Linked DNA regions of Homo sapiens: regions 2 and 3 are each linked to region 1. Evidence: promoter capture Hi-C in 16 types of primary human blood cells and fetal thymus (Javierre and others, 2016). All regions are on one chromosome and are shown on one strand. Each heading gives the region's core, a stretch centred on a gene start or on the middle of the fragment in contact. The rest is flanking DNA. Distances are from core to core; before and after follow the strand shown.

What was found. Contacts are between HindIII fragments. The CHiCAGO score rates a contact against its expected background, and 5 or more counts as called.
Region 2: a fragment that was not itself captured here is called in contact with the fragment with the promoter of TNKS in region 1 in 1 of 17 cell types (naive CD4 T cells); the score reaches 5.6 in naive CD4 T cells.
Region 3: a fragment that was not itself captured here is called in contact with the fragment with the promoter of TNKS in region 1 in 1 of 17 cell types (endothelial precursors); the score reaches 6.7 in endothelial precursors.

Annotation. Positions count from the first base shown.
Region 1 is chr8:9,554,373-9,557,743 of GRCh38, forward strand. It overlaps TNKS (tankyrase), which reads left to right and starts at 1,540. Exons shown (of 27, transcript NM_003747.3): 1 at 1,540-2,240. The coding sequence starts at 1,568. RefSeq lists enhancers at 1,223-1,884, 1,885-2,544 and a silencer at 1,643-1,802. The HindIII fragment of the contact is 11,121 bases long and covers 1-3,371 here.
Region 2 is chr8:9,769,710-9,773,080 of GRCh38, forward strand. TNKS (tankyrase) reads left to right here. Exons shown (of 27, transcript NM_003747.3): 26 at 397-553. Among named protein-coding and RNA genes, the nearest start is that of MIR597, 30 kb to the left of the region's middle. The HindIII fragment of the contact is 3,049 bases long and covers 359-3,371 here.
Region 3 is chr8:9,368,660-9,372,030 of GRCh38, forward strand. All of the region lies in intron 1 of LOC105379231 (a long non-coding RNA gene), which reads left to right. LOC105379230 (a long non-coding RNA gene) reads right to left here. Exons shown (of 3, transcript NR_188127.1): 3 at 2,886-3,371. It also overlaps the pseudogene RNU6-526P. Among named protein-coding and RNA genes, the nearest start is that of TNKS, 190 kb to the right of the region's middle. RefSeq lists an enhancer at 582-631. The HindIII fragment of the contact is 1,722 bases long and covers 721-2,442 here.

The sequences.
Region 1 (3,371 bases), core at 290-2,789:
GGAATATTAACATCACATAAATCATATTTAACAATGAACACATGAAACAATTTATCACCTAGTTTAATATTCTGCTTGACTCATCTAAATCTTGTTTCTCTTACAGAATTTCCATCTGTGTCCACTCTATTGGAATAATGCTGTTTCTGTATACTTCTACAATGCCTGCTTTACTATTGAACAGTAGGTATGAAATGGAGTCCTCAATGGGATTATCTCATTCATGGATACATCTTTTGATAGTAGAAAAACAAAAGTATACATAGGTTGGGGGAAAGACAGAAAAAGCAGTTGCTGAAAAATAGCACCTGATGGTGAGTAATGGACAGCAATCAGGTTTTTGTTATGTTTTCTTGTTGTTTTTGTGACAGGGTCTCCGCCCTCTGTCACCCAGGCTGGAGTGCAGTGGTGTGACCTCGGCTCACAGCAACCTCTGCCTCCCGGGCTCAAGTGATCCTCCCAACAGACTCCTGAGTAGCTGGGACTACACGCATGTGCCACTTTGCCCAGCTAATCTGTGTATTTTTTGTAGAGATGGAGCTTCGCCGTGATGGCCAGGCTGATCTTGAACTCCCGGGCTCAAGTGGCCCGCCGGCCTCGGCCTCCCAAAGTGCTAGGATTACAGGCATGAGCCACCGTGACCAGCCTAGCAATCAGGTTTTTATCTGTTTCGGGTGTGGGAGAGGCTAAGCTAAGCCAGAATTCAAAAGAAAGGAATATATTCATAATTAGTTACACTTAGGGTGAAAAATAAAATTTCAGAGAGAGCAGAATAGGAAAAAAAAATCATAATTTTAATAATTCACACTTATTGCACTATTGTTATTTCAATTTTACAGAGAAAAACAGGCATAGAGTGATGAAATAGCAAGTACATATATAAACAACAAATGGCAGAGCTGGAACGCCAATCCTAGCAATCTGAACCAGCATTTAAAAACGAGGAATTAAAGCACATAGGGTGAGAAAAATTATAGGGAAGGGACAAGAGCTCAAGGGGACACCTGGAAAAGAAATACTATAATTTAAAAAATTACCAACGGGCTAATTATACTTGTGTTTTACTGGCAGAGCGCTTTGTCTGTTAGCTCTTTTAATCCCGCTAATAATTCTGTGAGGTTGGTACTATAAGTTCCATTTTTCAGACAAGGACGCTTAATAGATGATAACGGACACATTCCCTGCTTGCTCTGATCTGCATCTCAACAGCTGGCTCTGGAGCAAGCAAAGGGAGACTAAGGGAAACAGAGCGGAGCAGGGCAAAGAAAGCCGACTGAAAGTGAGAAATGCAGGAAATGTTTCCCATCTAGGCAGAAGCTGGTTCCAGCATTCAAATCTCTCCAGCCGGCCCGCCACCACGTCACAAAGCCCGCCTCTCAGTGACAAAGCCCCGCCCCGTTCCCTTGGCTGTTCTCTGAGCTCCCAATACTTCCCTCCTTCTCTTTGGCCCCTGCTACCCCGCCTAGCATCATTTCCTGTGCGCTGGATGCTGATTGGTCCGACAGTCGGAAGTGAGGGCGGGCGGTGGGGGCCGTTGCCGCAGTGACAGTGCTAGGGGAGTCCGAAGATGGCGGCGTCGCGTCGCTCTCAGCATCATCACCACCATCATCAACAACAGCTCCAGCCCGCCCCAGGGGCTTCAGCGCCGCCGCCGCCACCTCCTCCCCCACTCAGCCCTGGCCTGGCCCCGGGGACCACCCCAGCCTCTCCCACGGCCAGCGGCCTGGCCCCCTTCGCCTCCCCGCGGCACGGCCTAGCGCTGCCGGAGGGGGATGGCAGTCGGGATCCGCCCGACAGGCCCCGATCCCCGGACCCGGTTGACGGTACCAGCTGTTGCAGTACCACCAGCACAATCTGTACCGTCGCCGCCGCTCCCGTGGTCCCAGCGGTTTCTACTTCATCTGCCGCTGGGGTCGCTCCCAACCCAGCCGGCAGTGGCAGTAACAATTCACCGTCGTCCTCTTCTTCCCCGACTTCTTCCTCATCTTCCTCTCCATCCTCCCCTGGATCGAGCTTGGCGGAGAGCCCCGAGGCGGCCGGAGTTAGCAGCACAGCACCACTGGGGCCTGGGGCAGCAGGACCTGGGACAGGGGTCCCAGCAGTGAGCGGGGCCCTACGGGAACTGCTGGAGGCCTGTCGCAATGGGGACGTGTCCCGGGTAAAGAGGCTGGTGGACGCGGCAAACGTAAATGCAAAGGACATGGCCGGCCGGAAGTCTTCTCCCCTGCACTTCGCTGCAGGTCAGAGACTTTTGAATTGTTTATTAAGGGTTATGGGTTTGGGTGCAGGGTCCGGTTAGGACAAGAAAACAGGTTATTGTGATGGGACAAAGTGGGGGCGTGGTTATGGTTCTTCATCACCTCACCAGAAGACTGGAGGTTCCTTTCTTTTGGTGGTGCCTGGGTGATGGGGGCGTGGTTGGGGGGGATAAGTGAATCCAAGGAATTCTTCAGTGGTTGCACAGTACTCATTACAAAACTCACTGTAGTTGGTAGTCTCTGCATATGGATATATTTACACTTTAGTTTTTGGTGTGCAGGAATACAGTTAGATTTGGACAGCTTTAGAGTAGTTTTGTCGTTTGTGTGCTAGTTTATTTTGTTTTTACAAGGGTATGTCCTTTGAGGACAGTCCAGACCAAAAGAGGTTTAATACAACCCAACACATGTTTGAGGATCTATTGTAGCCTTAATAACCCAATGAAAGACATAAATGAAGTGTTTGAAAGTTTCCCTTCTTCTAAAGAAGTTTGCAGTCTAGACGGGGAGACCAAAATATGCCAATGTGAAACAACTGGAGAAGAATATTTGGATGCATTATATGATGATGGAAGAAATATAGGCTTTGATGTTGTGGCCACTATTATTTGTTGTCTAGCAGACCATTTACCTCGTGTCAGTTGCCTCAGTTTTCTCATGGGCAAAAATCATAAAATGATGTTGTGCGAGCATTTGGTGAGAAGTATCTGGCACAAAGTTCTCCCTCAAAAAGTGTGAATTTCTTAAGCTCTGGACCCCACACTTGTCTTTTTTTTTTTTTTTGCAAGTAGTTGATGATTTTCTCTCAAAGACACCTAATAATATGTTTATAAAATAAAGAGAACTGTAAAATAAAAACAAAGGACCATAATCTCACTGCCTGGATACCTATTGTTGATATTTTAAAAATGTAGGTAATAATGTTTTATACATTAGAAACATTATATTGGAAATACATATATTGTACGTTATACAATTCAAATAGGACAGAAAAATACAAAATGAAAGGCATCACACAGAAACATCAGAGATAACACACCAGAGATAACTTCTGTTAAGTTTCTCCTATATTTCTAATATATATATATATCACTTCTTCAGTTTGTTCTGTTA
Region 2 (3,371 bases), core at 633-3,132, 220 kb after region 1:
CCCGTGTTCGTGCCATTCTCCTGCCTCAGCCTCCCAAGTAGCTGAGACTACAGGCGCCCGCCACCACACCCGGCTAACTTTTTGTATTTTTAGTAGAGACGAGGTTTTTACCGTGTTAGCCAGGATGGTCTTGATCTCCCTAGCAGGCATTTTCTATGGCCGATTCCTAAGCCATACCAAAACTACTTTAAACTTTAAGTGTAACTATTGAGTCTGGTAACTGTTTATAGCAAATCATTATATCAAATTCCATCCCATTCCTACTCATAAATCTGAAAATGACATTTAAATTAGCTTGCCTTATGTTAAATTTTTAAAAAATTAATAGATCTAGCAGTTATATTATTGTAAGATTTAAAGCTTCCTTCAAAGCATTGTTTTTTTCTTTTTCCTTAGACAAATGCTCTTCTGTAGAGTGACCCTTGGGAAATCCTTTCTGCAGTTTAGCACCATGAAAATGGCCCACGCGCCTCCAGGGCACCACTCAGTCATTGGTAGACCGAGCGTCAATGGGCTGGCATATGCTGAATATGTCATCTACAGAGGAGAACAGGTATGTTACTCATCAAACAAGCATAACCAAGTTCACAAACATGTCAATAGAGCACAGAGACCGTGTAAGACTTGAGACACTTTTCAGTGAAATATCCACCACACAGTGTGCTAGTATTAATTACTTCAGATACAAAATAAAGGTATCAAAATAATTCTTTGACATCAACTTTTTACCTAAAACCCATTAGTAGCTGTCAGCCACATAACACAGTGTGAACAAGAGGGCAGCTGAGAAACAAAGGCTTGGGCCCTCATGCCGTTTTGAGGCCTGCAGCTCTGAACTAATGCCTTGTGCCACTTCGTGGGCAGCATGCCAGGGCAGCTGCTGTTAGTGGGTCTTCATGGATGTACATGCCACAGGATTTGTCCAAAAACAAAAACAATTTGTCTGAATGTAAGTGAACTTCAAATGAATACCATAACTACAATAAAAGAGAAAAATAAAGAAGGAAATAACTAAATATATATAACCTATGAAAACAGTATTTTATACTGTGCCTTCAGTCATGGGCAGGGTAGGGAATGCTGTTGGGGGAAGACTGACAAAGGAATCCTGAACTCCTTTTAGTAAATGTGTTGATGGAGATACCGTGGGCAAAACAGTGAAACTCTTAAGCATATTATAGGATTGAGCACATGAGCGGATGTGTTGATGTATTGATTTGAGGAGCCAAAATTCTCATGGTAGAAGAAGGGACATACAAATATGGAATGGAGAAGGTAAGAAAGACTCTAAGGGTGGACTGAAATTGGAAGTATTACTATGATCTCATGGTTTCTAACGTGTGTGTACACCCATGTAAATTTATGGGTAAGTAGTAATATAAGCATGTGTGTGTATATGAGAGAAAGAGAAACCAAGGAAGGGAGGGAAGGAGAGAGAGAGAGACAGACAGGAAGGAAAGGAGGGAGAGAAGAGAGGAAGGAAGGAAGTGAGGGAGGAAGAGAGAGAGGAAGGGAGGGAGAGAGCGAGGAAAGGAGGGAGGGAGGAAGGAAGTGAGGGAGGAAGAGAGAGCGAGGAAGGGAGGGAGGAGAGAGGAAGGAAGGAAGAGAGAAGAAAGGAGGGAGAGAGAGGAAGGGAAGCAGGGAGGGAGAGAGAGAGGAAGGGAGGGAGGGAAAGAGAGAAAGGGAGGGAAAGAAAGGGAGACAGATACTAAGGAAGGGAGGGACAGAGGAAAGGAAAAGAGAGAGAAGAAGGGAGGGAGAGAAGAAGGAAGGGGGAAAGAGATAAAGGGAAGGAAAGAACGGGAGAGAGAGGAAGGGAGGGAGAAAGACTGAGAGAGGAAGCAAGGGAGAAAGCGAGAGAGGAAGGAAGAGAGAAAGGGAGAGGAAAGAAAGAAGGGAGGAAGAGAGGAAGGAAAGAGGGAGGGAAAGAGAGAGAGGGATGAATGGAGGGGAGAGGCAGGAAGGGAGGGAGAGAGAGAGAGAGAGAGAGGAAGGGAGAAAGCGAGAGAGGAAGGAACAGGGAGTGAGAAAGGAAGGATTGGAGGAAGGAGAGAGAAAAAAAGGAAGGCAGGAGAGAGAGGAGAAGGGAAGTGGGGGAGGAAGGGAGAAGGGGGAATGAAGCGGGGAGAGAGGGGAGGGAGGGAGAGAGAGCTAGAGAGCGGAACGGAGGGAGAAAGTGAGGGAGAGCAGAAGGAAGGGATGGGGAGAGAGGGAGGAAGAGGGAGGGAGGGGGAGAGGGAGGGAGTGGGAGGGAGTGAGAGGGAGAAAGAGGTGGGAGGGAAGAAGGGATAGGCAGAGGGATGGGGGAGGGAGAAAGGGAGGGAGTGAGAGGAGACAGAGGTAGGGAGGGATGGAGGGGGAGAGAGGGAGAGAGAAGGAGGGAGGGAGAAACAGGGAAGGACGGGTGGAGGGAGGGATGACATGGGACTCATCATGTACCCATTATTAGACCAGGCAAGAATTATTAATGGATGCTAAATATGGGGATTGTTTCACTAAGGAGAAGAATATTTGCGTGGTTTTCTTATTACAGACTTACTTTCAAAGGGGGCTGGGGGGAGGAGTAATTATATATTGGAGAAAGGGGACAATGCCTTGACCAGATAATCAAAATCAACATCACCAATGAGGGACAGATAGGCTTATATTATCTCTCTAGGTGGATACTCTAAAGGCACGACATCTCTGCAGCATTCCAGCCAAAAATACATGATGTAAGTCTAATCAAAATGAGGAATGTTTTACTTTTTTTAATGTTGAAAGATTGTATTCTTCAAAAATGTTAATATTATAAAAGAAAGGCTGTGCTAACTTTCCAGATTACATGAGGCCCAAGAGACATGAAAACGAAGTTAACCTTCTGCCCCCAACTGCATCCAGTATTGGAAGAGAAAGTACATTATTAGATCAACTGACAGAATTGGAATATGGACATTAAATAAAAGGATTGTATCAATGTAAAATTATAAGGTTGATTCTGTACTTACGTAAGGCAATATGTCTATGCTTAGAAAATATATACTGGCATATTTAGGGATAAAGGACCATGATGATGTATATAACTTGTAAACGTTTTGGGGAGAATGTGTGTGTGTGTGTTTGTGTGTGTGTGTGTGTGTGTCTGTGTGTGTGTGTGTGTGTGTGTGTGTGTAGTGCGTATGTGTGGGTGTGGGTGTATCTAGTATACAGGGATAGGGAAGGGGCAAATGATAAAGCAAATGAGATAAATAAAACCTTCCCAAACGTAGATCTGGGTGAGGTTATGTAGCTGTTTTTGGTACCATTTTAATTTTTGCAACTTACTTGTAAGTTGGTAGCTGTTTCCAAATAAAAAGTTTACAAAAAGGAAGGAATAAATTTGTCATATTTTT
Region 3 (3,371 bases), core at 332-2,831, 190 kb before region 1:
GTAGTCCCAGCTACTCGGGAGGCTGAGGCAGGAGGATGGAGTGAACCCGGGAGGCAGAGCTTGCAGTGAGCCGAGATTGCGCCACTGCACTCCAGCTTGGGAAACAGAGAGCAAGACTCCGTCTCAAAAAAAAAAAAAAAAAAAGGAAGGGACCTTCCGATTATGCGCACCACATACGGTGTTTGCGACAACCTAGGATACATTTTATTGTTGGTTCCTATTGGAGATAAGGGATTGAGAGAGACTGATGTGTGCATAGGCATGAACGGGATTGTTCAGACATCCCTGCACTTACAGGGTGTGTCCTTTTAGGATTTCCTGAGCATAAACACGAGGGGAGGGTGAAAAGTCCCACTGTTACCTGCATGCCATGAAAATCCACTGGTTTTGGCTCCAGTTTTTGCTCACTGTCCAACTAAAGCAGCATTTAAAAAAAATGGAAACCTTGAGACATTTCTATTGTTCTGAATCAGCTGAGCATGGATGCTGAAATGTCCCTGCTTCCCACTAGGGGGAGCTTGTCATGCAGCACCAGAAACAGGATCGCGGGAGCGGGTATCGGTGAGGCTGAGCTGGAACGCGATTAGATTTTGTGCGTATGGATCTTCTCACGAGAAGCACACCTGTATTCTGTATTTTGGCTTTGATATGATTTGGTGGCTAGATTTAATTTTTGTGCCACCAGAGTGGATGTTATAGCTCCCGTTATGTAATCTAAAAAGCTTAAACACTTTTTCTACAGCACAGGGCTTTTTTCCTTCTTTCTACTATCAGATTGTATACATAATGATCCCTTATTTAAGGCACTGAGCCGGGCCCCACGCAAAGTCTCACGAGCAGGTGGGCTTCTTCCCCATCAGTGTTAACTGGCTTGGGGTCCATTTCACAGAACCCACTGTCTATCGCGGCTGTCAACAAACTGTGCCCTTCTAATTCAGTTTGACCAGCCTCGTCTAGCTAATGCCAAATCTACTGTGTTCTCTTATCACTGTCCCTGTATTAAATATAGTTAAGAGGAAATGGGGTCATCTTTGCTTTTTGAATATTTTTATTTCCTGGTTGAAAAACAATTGAGTAAAATGTTTTTGTTTCTAGAGGGGGTGACATGGAAATGCTCTATTTCAGTGGTAGAAGGTGCTGCGGAGCAGCGGGAAAACTGTCGCTCTGAAGTCAGAAGTTGGGTTTCAATCCCTGCAATGGCCCTTACTTGCTGACTAAAGGCTCTCAGTCTACTGTAACCCACCGGGCTTCCATTTCTGTCAATTAAGTAGGGATAACAATATGCATTTCGTGTGTGTGTGTGTGTGTTTTTAATGAGAATGGATAAAGAAAGGCAGTTGAAAAGACACAGCACAGTCCGGGTGCGGTGGCTCACGCCTGTAATCCCAGCACTTTGGGAGGCCGAGGCGGGTGGATCACGAGGTCAGGAGATCGAGATCATCCTGGCTAACAGGGTGAAACCCATCTCTACTAAAAATACATAAAATTAGCCGTGTGTGGTGGCGGGCGCCTGTAGTCCCAGCTACTCAGGAGGCTGAGGCAGGAGAATGGCGTGAACCCGGGAGGCGGAGCTTGAGATCGCGCCACCGCACTCCAGCCTGGGCGACAGAGCGAGACTCCGTCTCAAAAAAAAAAAAAAAAAAAAAAACAAGAAAAAAAGAAAAGAAAAAAAGACACAGCACAGTGACTGGCACATAGCAGGTGTCACTCCATTCCTCTTTCGCTTTGGTCAGGAATCCCCTTTGCCGTTTGATCACTTTTAAAGACAATCCCTCATGTTTTCTTCCTTGTATTATTTAATAGCCTGTTCGCCTGTTCAGTGTAAGATAAGGAAACATTAGTACAGAAAAATGGGGAATAGACAAATGGCGAAGGGACGGCTATCCTTTCGGAACAGAAAACACAACTTAATTACATTCACAATGGATCAAAACGGCTTCCTGAATCAGGTACCTACAGTTTGCGGCCTCTCTTATGTCCCGCCTGCGTCTCTCTGTCTACTACTCATCACCAGATGCCAGGGCCACCTCCAACAGCGGTGCCTGCATTCCTTCTTGATTTAGTATCTTTTTGTAATTGATACATAATATTTTCACATATTCATGGTGTATATGTGATGTTTTGTTACATGCATGGAATGTGTTATGATCAAGACAGGGTATCAGGGTATCCAGCTGGAGTATTTATTTCCAGGTGCTGGGAACATTTCAAGTCCTATCTTCTAGCTATTTTCAAAATATGTAATGCAGTCGCCCTATTCTACCATCTAACGTTAGAACTTATTCTTTCTAACTATATGTTTGTACCCCTAACCAACCTTTCTTCATTCCCCCACCTTCATGTCCTTCTTAACTGCTAGTAAACGTTCTACTCTCTACCTCTGTAAGATCACCTTCTTTTAGCTCCCACATATGATGGAGTAAATGCAATAAAAATATGGAAAGCTTCACAAATTTGCACGGCATCTTTGTGCAGGGCCGTGCTAATCTTCTCTATATCATTCCAATGTGCCAATTACTAATGAACTAAACACTAATACTTTCTGCCAAAGTAAGCATGGATTTAGGATCTTTGACATGATCCCAAAAAGATAGACATTGCAGTGCTTTTGTGGATGATATCCAATTGAGGTTCTACTTCTGCAGAATTAAATTATAATTTTACACAGTCTTTTGGAAGATCCCAGGATTTGATAAAGAATTTCATGAGAATCTAAATCCAAGATTTCTCCACTCACTGGGGCCTGGTTAACTGATATCTGGCTATAAAATTCCAACACAGGATAGATTTCAGTTCAGTTCTGAACTGCCTTCTTGGCTTCCCAGTTGATATAAGACATGCATTCTAATGGAAACACATTGCTGAATGTGGCTAGGCCATAGAGCTGAATTAACTCAGGTTAGCTTTATTTTGGATAAGTAGGCTTTTTGTGGGCTGCCCTGGGAACTTTTTCATTATGTATAATTTCATACCTATGGAATATGAGGCTCAAATTCTAAATGACTGGCTTGCCAACTTTTAGAATTTACCTGCTTTAAAATTGGGAGCAATCTGTTCCTTTGTAAATGTTCTGAACTGGAACTATAATTCAGATAAATAAGGGCATTTCTAAATGACAGAGCCCAAAGGAAATCTGTTTGCAAGAGGGACAGATGCCCCTCAGGAAGACAAGCAGGGGAGCACTTGTTCTCAGATCATGAGTCAAGGTCAGAGAGTGAGATGACTCTGGGTAATGGAGACTACACTTCAGGCCATCCCCGTAGACAAATGCTCATGTCTTAAAGAAAAGGAGAGGCAAAAACACAGTGAGAAAATCCTGAAAGCTGCAATGCATTGGAATTGCTGTCTGCATCGGAAGTGGGGTTATAGCA